Regions from separate parts of the Homo sapiens genome. Here region 1 is linked to region 2. The links are contacts of gene promoters, found by promoter capture Hi-C in blood cells and fetal thymus (Javierre and others, 2016). All regions are on one chromosome and are shown on one strand. Each heading gives the region's core, a stretch centred on a gene start or on the middle of the fragment in contact. The rest is flanking DNA. Distances are from core to core; before and after follow the strand shown. Region 1 overlaps PLCL2 (phospholipase C like 2). Region 2 holds the start of SATB1-AS1 (SATB1 antisense RNA 1).

The links. The method cuts DNA at HindIII sites, captures the fragments that hold promoters and counts their contacts. A CHiCAGO score of 5 or more calls a contact.
Region 1: a contact is called between a fragment that was not itself captured here and the fragment with the promoter of SATB1-AS1 in region 2, in 1 of 17 cell types (non-activated CD4 T cells). The highest score is 5.1, in non-activated CD4 T cells.

What each region holds. Positions count from the first base shown.
Region 1 is chr3:16,894,934-16,900,273 of GRCh38, reverse strand. All of the region lies in intron 1 of PLCL2 (phospholipase C like 2), which reads right to left. Among named protein-coding and RNA genes, the nearest start is that of PLCL2, 13 kb to the right of the region's middle. The HindIII fragment of the contact is 3,647 bases long and covers 2,237-5,340 here.
Region 2 is chr3:18,441,145-18,446,502 of GRCh38, reverse strand. SATB1-AS1 (SATB1 antisense RNA 1) reads right to left here and starts at 1,266. Exons shown (of 7, transcript NR_125803.1): 1 at 1,061-1,266. It also overlaps a transcript of SATB1 not described here. RefSeq lists a silencer at 1,141-1,360. The HindIII fragment of the contact is 8,267 bases long and covers 1-3,654 here.

The sequences.
Region 1 (5,340 bases), core at 2,811-5,310, 1.5 Mb after region 2:
TTTAAATTAATCTTATTGCCCTGACTTCTTAAATTCTTCTCTGAATTTTTACCTCTGTCAAGAAGAAAAAATGAAGGTTATTTTCTTTAGTAAACAGTCACTGCTACCTCAGTAACAGAATTCTTCAAGACTCTGAGATTAAGATCTCAACAGTCTTATCCAGGTAGCAACTAAAACAATCGTGCCCAACCCACCCAAGTTCAGAGTGCTGAAAACTAATACAAATGATGGACTGGGCCTGCAGTTACATGTTTCCATTTAAAAGGGTAATTAAACCAAAGCCACAGTGAACCAAAATAAAAATAAAAAACTAAAACATGATATTCAAAAAAGCAAAGCAGGGAATGTTGAAAAGAACATTTCAAATAAGAGATGGGAAAAAGTAAACGTGCCCTCTAAAATAGGATAGTTTCTTGTTAGGGTGTTTTGACGGGGGGCGGCGGGGGGGATATTTTAATGGATTTATTAGCAAATTTTCAGGAACAGCACAGATCTTTCTCACATAAATAATCAAATCAACAGCAAAATAGCAAAAACTGAATCATTCAGACCAAGAGCTCTTCCCAAGATCCATACAGGTTTTACTTACCATGTCAGTCATGCGAAAAGTACTTGCCCTGGTCCCGAAAAGACATACAAGAAATCAAGCAGACAAGATTTCACGCACTTTTTACAGAAAAAAGAGGAGAAAACACAGTCTTCTGGACACATTTAACACTTCAACCAAGCAGAGGTGCAGACCCGAATCAGAACTCATGACTCTCAAGTTGCAGCTCTTGGTCTCCACAGGCCAGCTCCCCAACTAGTGTCCAGGTCTCTGGTGTGAACTTCTGCACAGAAATTCAGGGAATTCAGCCTCTGTACCTACTTGATACTCTGTTGTTGCTGTTTTCAAACATGACCCCAATGGGCTGCTCTGTTTAGATACAGCAGAAAAGCCTAAGGCTGGACTAACAGTCCTCTCTATGTAGAAAAGCAGCCCTCTTGTGAAGGTAGATGCTCAACTGTTCCTCTCCCTGCTGAGACGCTCCATCCATATACAGGCTAAGCTGTCTGCTGGTGTTGTTTCCACAGTGGCCACAGCTCCATGACATGCCTTGAGGCCAAGATTCAACTCACCACTAAAGTGAGAATCATGGTGCAAAGGGCATCCCCTCGATAGTGACAGATACACAGCACTCTGCAGCTTACTGTACCTTTCCTTGTTCCTCCATTCTTCTCTCTACCACCTTTTGAAGCACAACCTCCTGACAAACACGCCCCAGCACAGCACTAATGGTTACTGCCAAGTATTACTGCCAAATGGCCTGCCAAGGCGTGGGTCCCCGCAACCCCCTCCCCCTCCACCCTCCAACCCCTGCCACAGCTGGCTGGGGCCTCTGGCCCCAAGCAATCTCCTCATGTTATCTAGACAATTATATCATTTTCCATGTGTGACCTGGTGTGGAAAGGTTTTAAGTGCCATTTTGGAACATAACTAATAGATCCCGTGGTCCCTGTTGTTCCCAGGAATGACGGCCCTGAGAGTTGCCAAACTGTATCTGGGGACAGCTTTATCAAGCCCTGTTATTTTGGTGGTATCTTCTAAGCCATCCTCCACCTTGTCTTACTTTACTGTCTGGCAACCAGTAATGATGAGGACAGGTCAGGGCCACTGCCACAGAGGCCACACATCTCACCAACTTCCCAGTAAGGAGCCCAGTAGAACGCTTGCTATGTGGCTATGTGCCTGTTTCTCTCGCACTATTTCACTCTCTTGCTTCCAGACCCCTCCGGGTAGCATTCATACCCGGCAGCTATTCCTTAGGACAAAAGGGCTATTTAACTATTTTAAAATCTTTTTCAACAATACTTTTTTTCCTAACAATGAAGATGGGTAAGATCTGGCTAATTATGCTGTAGGAAAGGAAACCTCTCTTATTCTTCACTTGGTAAATATTACTGAGTACTGAATGTTCCAAAAAAAAAAGGCTGTAGATTTTCTCTCCCCAAAGAATATTAAAGTTCATTTCTACTACACCTCCCATTTAGAATACGTAAATAAAACTGCCTGTCAAAGGTATATGTGTTAACAATTGTGTCACAATCAAGATAGGGACAGCTTGAGAAAACTTTGCTGCTGCCAAACTGTTGGTGCCTCTCCGGCCTCTAAACAGGGGTCTCCAAGGACTTGGCCTTCCCCTCAGGTCACTACTCTTCCTTGGTGCCTACTCAAGACAAGTGAGGGGCACAAGCTTCTTGGCTAGAAGACTCATCCTTGTCAATGTGGAAGAGAAAAAAAAAATGACCTAAAAAAATAAATGGGAATGACAACCTCTAATAATTTGTGCAGTCCAGTTGAGGAGAAAATGAGTACACACTGCATAACTAAGGTTACAAACAAGTAACGACTGAAATCTTCATGTTACTGCTTTGCAGCCAATAAAATATGTTTTATAGATGCCTCAGGAGTTCAATGTTCATTCCTCTTTACCGCGAAGGTCAGCATGGCAAGAGGAAAATGCTCTAGCATTCAGAAAGTACACATTCACGCAAAGGTCATGACGTGCCAACCCAGATGTCAGCCCACCCTCGGGCGGAGCACTGGAGCATCACCAGATGGTTCACATCCTCCCCGCATAAATCACCCTTACAAACAGACACCTGTCTGGCAAGTGCCGATTTATAATCTTCTGTGAGTAAACAGCGTTTTTACTACACTCATTTAGCAAAGTGAAACATCCAATCACCTCTCTCTAGAAATAGTGCTAGTGCCTCTGCCAAACTAATTCTTTCTAAAGACAATTTTTCCTAGGGAGGCTCCTCCTTCATGCTGCAGAATGCCATGGGTACACCTATATAGTTTCTCTTGTGAGGGATGGACAAGAGCCCAGGGACTCGCCAGGAACTACAGGGACTAGGAGCTGCACAGTAATGATTAATCAAGGGGGATTAAGGCTCCAAATAACCAACCCAGGGCCTTTTTTTTTTTTAATTGACATAATTTTTACCTTTACCTAGATCAAAAAAAGACACATAGGGCAGACTGTCATTTTCACATATAAAATCTATTTCTCCAAATTTTACTAAGGAATTATTCCCCTTCATTGACATTTTATATCCCCTCCAAAAAAGGGCAGCTCGACTCCCTTAAAGAAAAACTCCACCGCGGCAAGTTAAGGTTTAATCCTGCCCCCTACACCCCACCAGCCACATGCTCACCAACTATCATCTGCAGGATTCCGGGAGCTGTTTGTTCTCTCATATCTAACAGAGCTACACAGGGAAGTCGAGAACCCAACATATAAGAAAGGTTTCACAGCTGTTGTTAACCCTGGCTATACTTTAAAATCTCCCAGGGCACTTTAGGAAACCCCCAGAGGTTCTGATTCAATTGCAGCCAGGTGGGGTCTTCACATTAGTATGTTTTAGAATCCAGGTAATTCCAATGTGTCTTAAAATGACCCATCTGAAGATTATTTCCCCTTCGTCCTTTCCTACCCAAAAGAATATTTAGATTAGGCAGAATAAGTGTTCAGTAGAGCTAAAACTCTCTGTTGACCGACCACCTGAGATCCTAGGTATGCTATTACTTAGCAGTGATCAAACAACTCTCCATTTTGTCCGTATATCTGGATAACTGGTTTTGCTCTGTTAACTGCTTTTGAGACCAAAAAGCTCTATCTAGAAAACTGTTATGTGAAGAGCAGGTGCTCCACAAACGAGTGGTTCTCAAAGTTTTATTATGAGCAGCACATTTTCAAATATTAAAACTTTCGAGTGCACCTGAAGCTCAAAACTACACTAAACAAATCATAAAAACTCCAAGCAATCACGACTGCAGTGTAAGATGACTGCAGTGACCAACACACTCTTCACTAATGTGTCAACTTTCCACCCAGGCCCAGCTCCTTTTGTGCTTTCAGTATATTCCAAGGAAGATCCAGTCCTCAGGCTCTTCCAGCAAGCTGCCCCTCTCTCCACCCACCCCCTCTCCAGGCCATCAACTAGTGCAGGGCTTTAGCAGGTCTCACCACGTACAAGTGTCCACAGCAGCAGAAATGTTTCACATGCTGATCCACAGACAGCAAAAAACTGTAAAAGGCACGGCCCTAAATAGTGCAGGAGGAAGTAACCAATTGGTATCTGAGTTTGATTAATGTTCACAATTTAATTGTTTGAATAAACTTAATTTGTTGCAGTATGATAGACTTCCAGAAAAAAAATCCTAAGTGTAAAACCTAATGGATTTTTACAAAGTAAACCCACATTTGGAATCACCAACCAGATGCAGAAACCAAACATCACTGGCACCCAGTAGGACCCTTGCTTCCTCCCTCAATTATTATCCCCAAGTGTAACCACTATTATAACTTCTACCACTCCAAATTAGTTTAGCTGCTTTTGAACTTTATATAATTATAATCAAAAATATGTATTCTTTTGTGGCTGGTTTATTTCCCTTAGCATTATGCTTGGGAGACTCAAGCAGTGCATAGGGCAGTCATCTGCTGTTTCTGTTCTTTCTTCCTTTTCCTCATAGGATTCCACTGTATGATACGCTATTTTATAAGATAGGCATTTGAGTTGTTGCTTTCAATTTGGGACTGTTAGAATTAATGCTGCTTTAAGGACTCTTGGAAATGTCTTTCAATATACATATGGAGTAACTCCTGTTAGGTATATACCTAGCCAGAAAGACAGTGTGGTAAGTATATAAGGACTTTATGTGTATGTAACAAAATAGACTCCAAAAACAGACCCATACATAAATGGCCACTTGATCTAGGATCGAAGACCAATGCAGTGCAGTGGGAAAGAGATTCTATTTTCAAATAAATGGTGCTGAATTAATTGGATATTTATATGGAAAGAAAATCTTTAACCCTACCTCACACCACACACACAAAATGAAATCCAGATCTAAACATGAAAAATAGAACAATAAGACTCCAGTGGTTAAATAAATGACTATCTTCATAGAATTAGGCTAAGTAAACATTTCTGAAACAGGACTCAAAAATAATAACCATAAAGAAAAATACTGATACACTGAACTTCTCTAAAATTAAGAATTTTCATTAAAATATACCCTTTAAGACAGTGAAAAAGCAAGTCACATACTAGAAGACATTTTCAACATATATCTATATCGATATAGATACATGTTTCAACATATATCTATATCGATATAGATACATGTTTCAACATATATCTATATCTATATAGATACGTGTTTCAACATATCTATATATGTTGAAAATGTCTTTTGTGATATATCACAAAACATATATATCATCTGAATAATTACATTGGCATTTAATATAAGCTATTAGCACGGATTGATAGAAATAAAAATCT
Region 2 (5,358 bases), core at 17-2,516:
TTCAAGAAAGTGCGGCTTCTAAAAATACACCTAGGCAGCTCTACAGTCCTTATTGTTACAACCTGACGTTTTGCAGTTCATGCCATGAACCTAACTACACTTCTTGCCAAATACACACAAGCGTACAAAGAAGAGGAAAAGTAAAAACTATGTTACTATGTTTTATCTTTCTGCAATCCCTTTGAGTAAACAGTAGTAATTTTCTGTTGACATACTCAATGCAAATTTCCCAAAGGCTACACAATACAAAACAAAAGACCTGTTAGCTTCCTCAGAGCTGGGGGGAGGAGAGGCAGGGGGAGAGAAATAAAGTTGATGGAGCTCCAGTTTCTCCTAAGCCTGCAGTCCTGAGCCTCCAGTCACCCTAGTCTTTTTGTAGAGATTTTTTGAGTTTCAGTCTCCACTTGGGAAGGTTCCTTGGCCCCTTCTCTCCCAATGTCAATAAAACCCTCATCTCTCCCGCTTTGCCCCCAGCTTTTTGGGGAAATTGGACCTTGCCTAGGCGTCTTGTTCCAGTGGGTTGAAAAGTACAGCTGGTGATGTGAGGATAAATATTTAAACTAATGGGCTGGGTCACAGCGTGGGGGTCTTCAAGAGAGGGCCTCCTCCTCCTTCCGCCACGTGCTCCTCACTTGGGGTGCAGGGCTCCTGGACAAGGGGCTAAGACGGACGAGGGTGGGATGAAGGGAGATGGACAGACCAGACTGTAAGTGAAGGAGGCCCTCTAGGAAACATCGTCTCGACCGAACATTGACGGAGAAAAAAAAAATGGCCCAAATGCCCCTAGTGGGGAAGCATACACCCCACGCAGGCTGGGTTGGGGTGGGGGTGCTTCGCGGCCTCTCACCTGACTTCCTCCTCCGCCTGCACACACACTACAGTAACCCCCTCTACTCACCCCCCAAAACCCAGCCAAACAACAAGCAACAAGAGGAAGCCGCAGGCGACAAGAGGAGGAGTGCGCGTGTTGGGGGCCCCCGGAGAGGTGAGGGGGCAGGGTTGGCGGGCGACGAGAACCGCGCCGCGCACCCCAAGCGCACCCCCAAGCGCCCACACTTACCCCTCGAGGCTGAGGGTCCTGTCTTCCGCGCCAACCCCCGTGTGCGCCCCCTGGCCCGCCCTCGCCCCTCCGGCCCGCCGCCCCCCACACCCCGGCCGGCGCGCTGGGAGGGAGCCCGGGAGCGGTGCGCAGCAGCGGCGGCGGCGGCGGCGGCTCGGGCTCGGCTCGGCTCGGGCTTCAGTGCGCCTAGTGTCGCCAGCGGCCGCCGAGGCTCCCACCGCCAGGGGGAGAAGCCGGGCGGGCGCTGGGGAGGCGGGCCGGGCCCTGGCCGCCCCGCTGGCCAGCCCGCGCCGCACAAGCTCCGAAGCGGCGGCTACGCGGGGTCCGCCGAGCCCCCGGGCGCAGCGTGCCCGGTCCGAAGCGCCACGTCTGGATGCGCGTCCCGGGTGGCTGCGGGCTCCCGCGGGGGACGCCCCGGCCGCTCCGGTGCGCCTCCAGACTGCAGGCGCCGCGACCGACGAGACGAGAGCAGCTCCCGCCGGCCCCTTCCCCCTCCCGCCCCCGCCGCCGCCCCCTCCCCCTTCTCCCCCCCCCGCCCGTTAACATCTCCTCCCTCCCCCTCCTTCTCTTCCTTCCCTTGGCCCCGCGCGCTCGCTCGCTCGCTCCTCGCCTCGCTCTCCCCTTTAAACGCCCACTTCGTATGGGGAAAGAGGACAACTTGAAGTCAAGTTGCAATTAACTTCCGCGGCAGCCGCAGCTCCGGCGGCGGCGGCGGCGGCAGGAGAGGCAGAAGCCGCCGCCTCGGAAGTCCGACGCCGGCGCGCCCGCCCGGGGAGCCGTTCTTGGTTTCAGGCCCGCACTCGACAGCCACCGCCGCCCCCAACGTCCATGCCTGAGTGAGTTCTGCTCTTTTGCCTCCCTTTTCCCCTTGCTACTCTTGCTGTTTTATCTCTGTCCCTCTTTTTCCGGAATCAATCCAAACTTCTCCGTAGCACCCACTCCTCGTCCCCTATTGGGGCGGCTGGGCTCCCCTCTCGTGGGCGCAGGGCTTCAACGGTCTTCCGAGCCCCTTTTCTCACGCAGACGGACCTTGGAGGGGTGGGCTGGTAGAGTAGGGGAGAGCGGTCGGGATGGGGGATTTGAAGATGCCATTCGTTTTCTGTCTGGGTGTGGACACACCACCACACCTGCCCAATAGACCCTGGCTGAACAAACTCCTTCAGGTCACCGGTATGGCCCCTTTTAGAAAAGGAAAGGGGAGTGGAAAAGACCGAAGGAAGCAAATGGGGAAAAGGGGAGCCTCTCGGTGCGTTCTGGAGCCGGGCGGGCAGTAAGGTGCCTGGAGGAGTGGGCTGCGGGAGTGGTAATGTTCCCCCACCGGATCGCGAGTCTGCTCAGCATCCTTTCCCGGTCCATCTCCGCCTCCCTCCGCTCCCTGCCTGCGCGGCTGATTGTAAGCATCGGCGAAGAGGGGCCTGGGAAGTTTGTGGCAACTTCTGCATCCCGGGAGCTACTCGGGCGCCGGGGCGCTCAAGTTGGAGCCCGGAGTTTGAAAGCCGCGGCACTCCTCATTTCGAGCCCTCGCTGGCTGTAGCGAGGCCGGTCCTGGAGAGGCTGCTGGCGTGAATGTGGGTTTGGAGTTGGGCAAGAGGCAGAAGAAAGGGCCGTCCTCTTAGCAGGGGCCGGGACATCACAGGTGCAGCCTCGCAGTCCACACCGTGTTTCCCTCCTGCTGTCCAGACCCGAGCGCGGTGGCCTTTTCCTATTGCTCCAGTGCTAAGGCTCCCGGGCCGGCAGAACCGGGGTTTGGGAAACCACGACGAGAAGGACGAAGCAGGCAGGTGGCAGGTCCGGGGAGTGCCACGTGCTTACTGGGGAAACGCAGTTTCCTCTTGGGATGACCTCAGAAGACCAACAGGGGAAAGGGGCATAGGGATCTCCTTGAAAGTTTTGGCCTTGGCCTCCACTGAGGTGTTGCAAATTTCACTAACAAATGTCAACCACAGGGTCCTCTCTCAAAGTGTCCTGGTTGGCAACTTTGACCTCTGCGCCCTTCCTTGGCGAACTTTCTCAGTGGCATTCCGGACTTACAAGCAAATGTTCTAAGACTTGGACTCCACATGGTTATAAAAGAGACAGGGAAAACAGAAGGATGCCCTATTCCCCAGAGAGAACCTTACTGCTCTGACTGACTGGGTTTCCATGTTTGCATCCTTGGAGGCCAGGGGACCTGACTTTCTCAAGGGGGTGGCGGGTAGGGTAAGAATGAGTAAAATGTTACCGCTCGGTGTCAGGTTTTGTCCTAAGCAATCTGAAATTTACGGTGTTTGTACTGCTGACAGAGTAACTCATCCCGTTGAAACTTAGTTGAAATTTACACTCTATCCAAAGTGGATTTTTCTGAGATGTCAGGAATGTGAGATTTATTCTGTGGTCAAATGTAGCTGCAAAAATCAAAAACAAAAACCCATACTTTAAGTCTGAAGAAAACCAAGGTTGAGGTGTTTGCTCTAAAAACCTCTCATCTCCTGTATGGTACTACTGCTATGATTTAGCAGTAGTCCTCTATTTCTATTGCATATTATTTTCTTAGAACAGTAGTACATTCATATACTGGCTGCTCCAGTCTGCTGGCAAACATTAGCATTCAAGCTTACATTTTTGACAAATGTGCAGACAGGAATAGCATGAATAGGCATCTTAAATATTAACAACCTAAGCATCTGTTGTGAAACAAATTTAATATATTTACTCTGTTTTTCTCACATTGTTAGAAAAGGTTATAATAAGTGCATAATTTCAACTTTAGTTAGCAGAAGTAACTGGCTGTATCTTTCACTACCTCTCCAAGTGTTTATTACACAATCATCAGACATAAATACTTTAATTAACTTGGTTAAGCACATTATTAAATACACTGTAGACAATGTGTATACTATATAAAATGTAACAGTAGCAAACTATGTATTCTATTTGTACACGTTTTAAATGACTATGCATTTTATAAATATACCAAATATGTTTATTCTTCATCTTCATTTGACACTTACTACTTCATAGTTTTTTCTAATGAAAACAATATTTTAAATGTAGAGTTGTTCAGTCATAGGTAATACATAATATTTAAACAGTAGCTATAAAATACAAGGCATTGTCAAATTTGGATAATGCTACATCTAACATTATACAAGAGAAATAAAATTACAATTCAATTTTGTATTTATTTCTGAATAATGAATATAAATAATATATGAAAAAATAACGAATAGGGATTTCCCTCCTAAAGTACTACCTCCTTAAAATTTGGTGGGAGGGCAGGATGGGGGGCGGGGGGAAGATAGAGAAAGAAGACCTAAATAACTTCCAAAAGTCTGAATAGTTATTTCCAGAATCAATGCATTCCTCACTTTCCCACAAGCTGAAATATGTAATAAATAATAGTTCTTTGTATGTAAAAGTATTCAAAAGGAATGTTTTTTGTTCAGATTTGTAAGAAATTAATATATTCTTTGGTTGATAATCTACAAAAGTAGTTCTTTTGTCTCCCAGCATCTTAAGAACGACAACAAAATGAATATTGGTTTATTTCTGCAAAGAAATCTGTTGCCAGCTATATGAACCTGTGATTAAATAAGACATGATATGCTGAGTGATGGTAAAGAAATACTACATTAACTTAGTAAAGACTAAAATATCTGGAGGAGAATTTTTAGTTCTTTTTCATATGACAGGTTGTGGATTGTAAATTAGGCCTAAAAGGTCAGGTGACAGGCACCTGTTCCTCATTATTGTAAAAATATTTTGGTTACAAACACTGTTAAGCTAAACACAACATGGATATACAGCAGGGACTCTATAAAGCACTCTAGTGGGTTTTCATCTGTTCTGTAAATTTCCAAAAGGGCTATACATAGATATGCCCTTTACACACATAGTTTCTTCCATACATATTGTCTTGGATGGCTGTAATTAATATATTAGCACTTGGAATTGATGAAGTATTTAAAATAAATGCATATGACTAAAGCAATCTTCAGACTATTTCTAGACATGATGTAGTTGAATGCAAAAATGTTTTTAATCTCTTTTCCCTTTTCAATATATTGATTATCAGAATTTTGTTCATGTTATAAATAGAAACCTCCCCAGATTGCCTTTTACACTTTTTAGATAAGATGGGTTCTTATTTTAAATGCTGCCACGAAATATTTTGCTCAGTACTCATATATAAAAAGAAAATTAGTTGCTATATACTGTCATAGCTTTGTGGCATACATAAAATAGAAAAAACACGTTTTACATGAATGCTGTTAGGAAGGATATCATCATTTGATCTTCAAACTTGCCGCTTCTCTCAG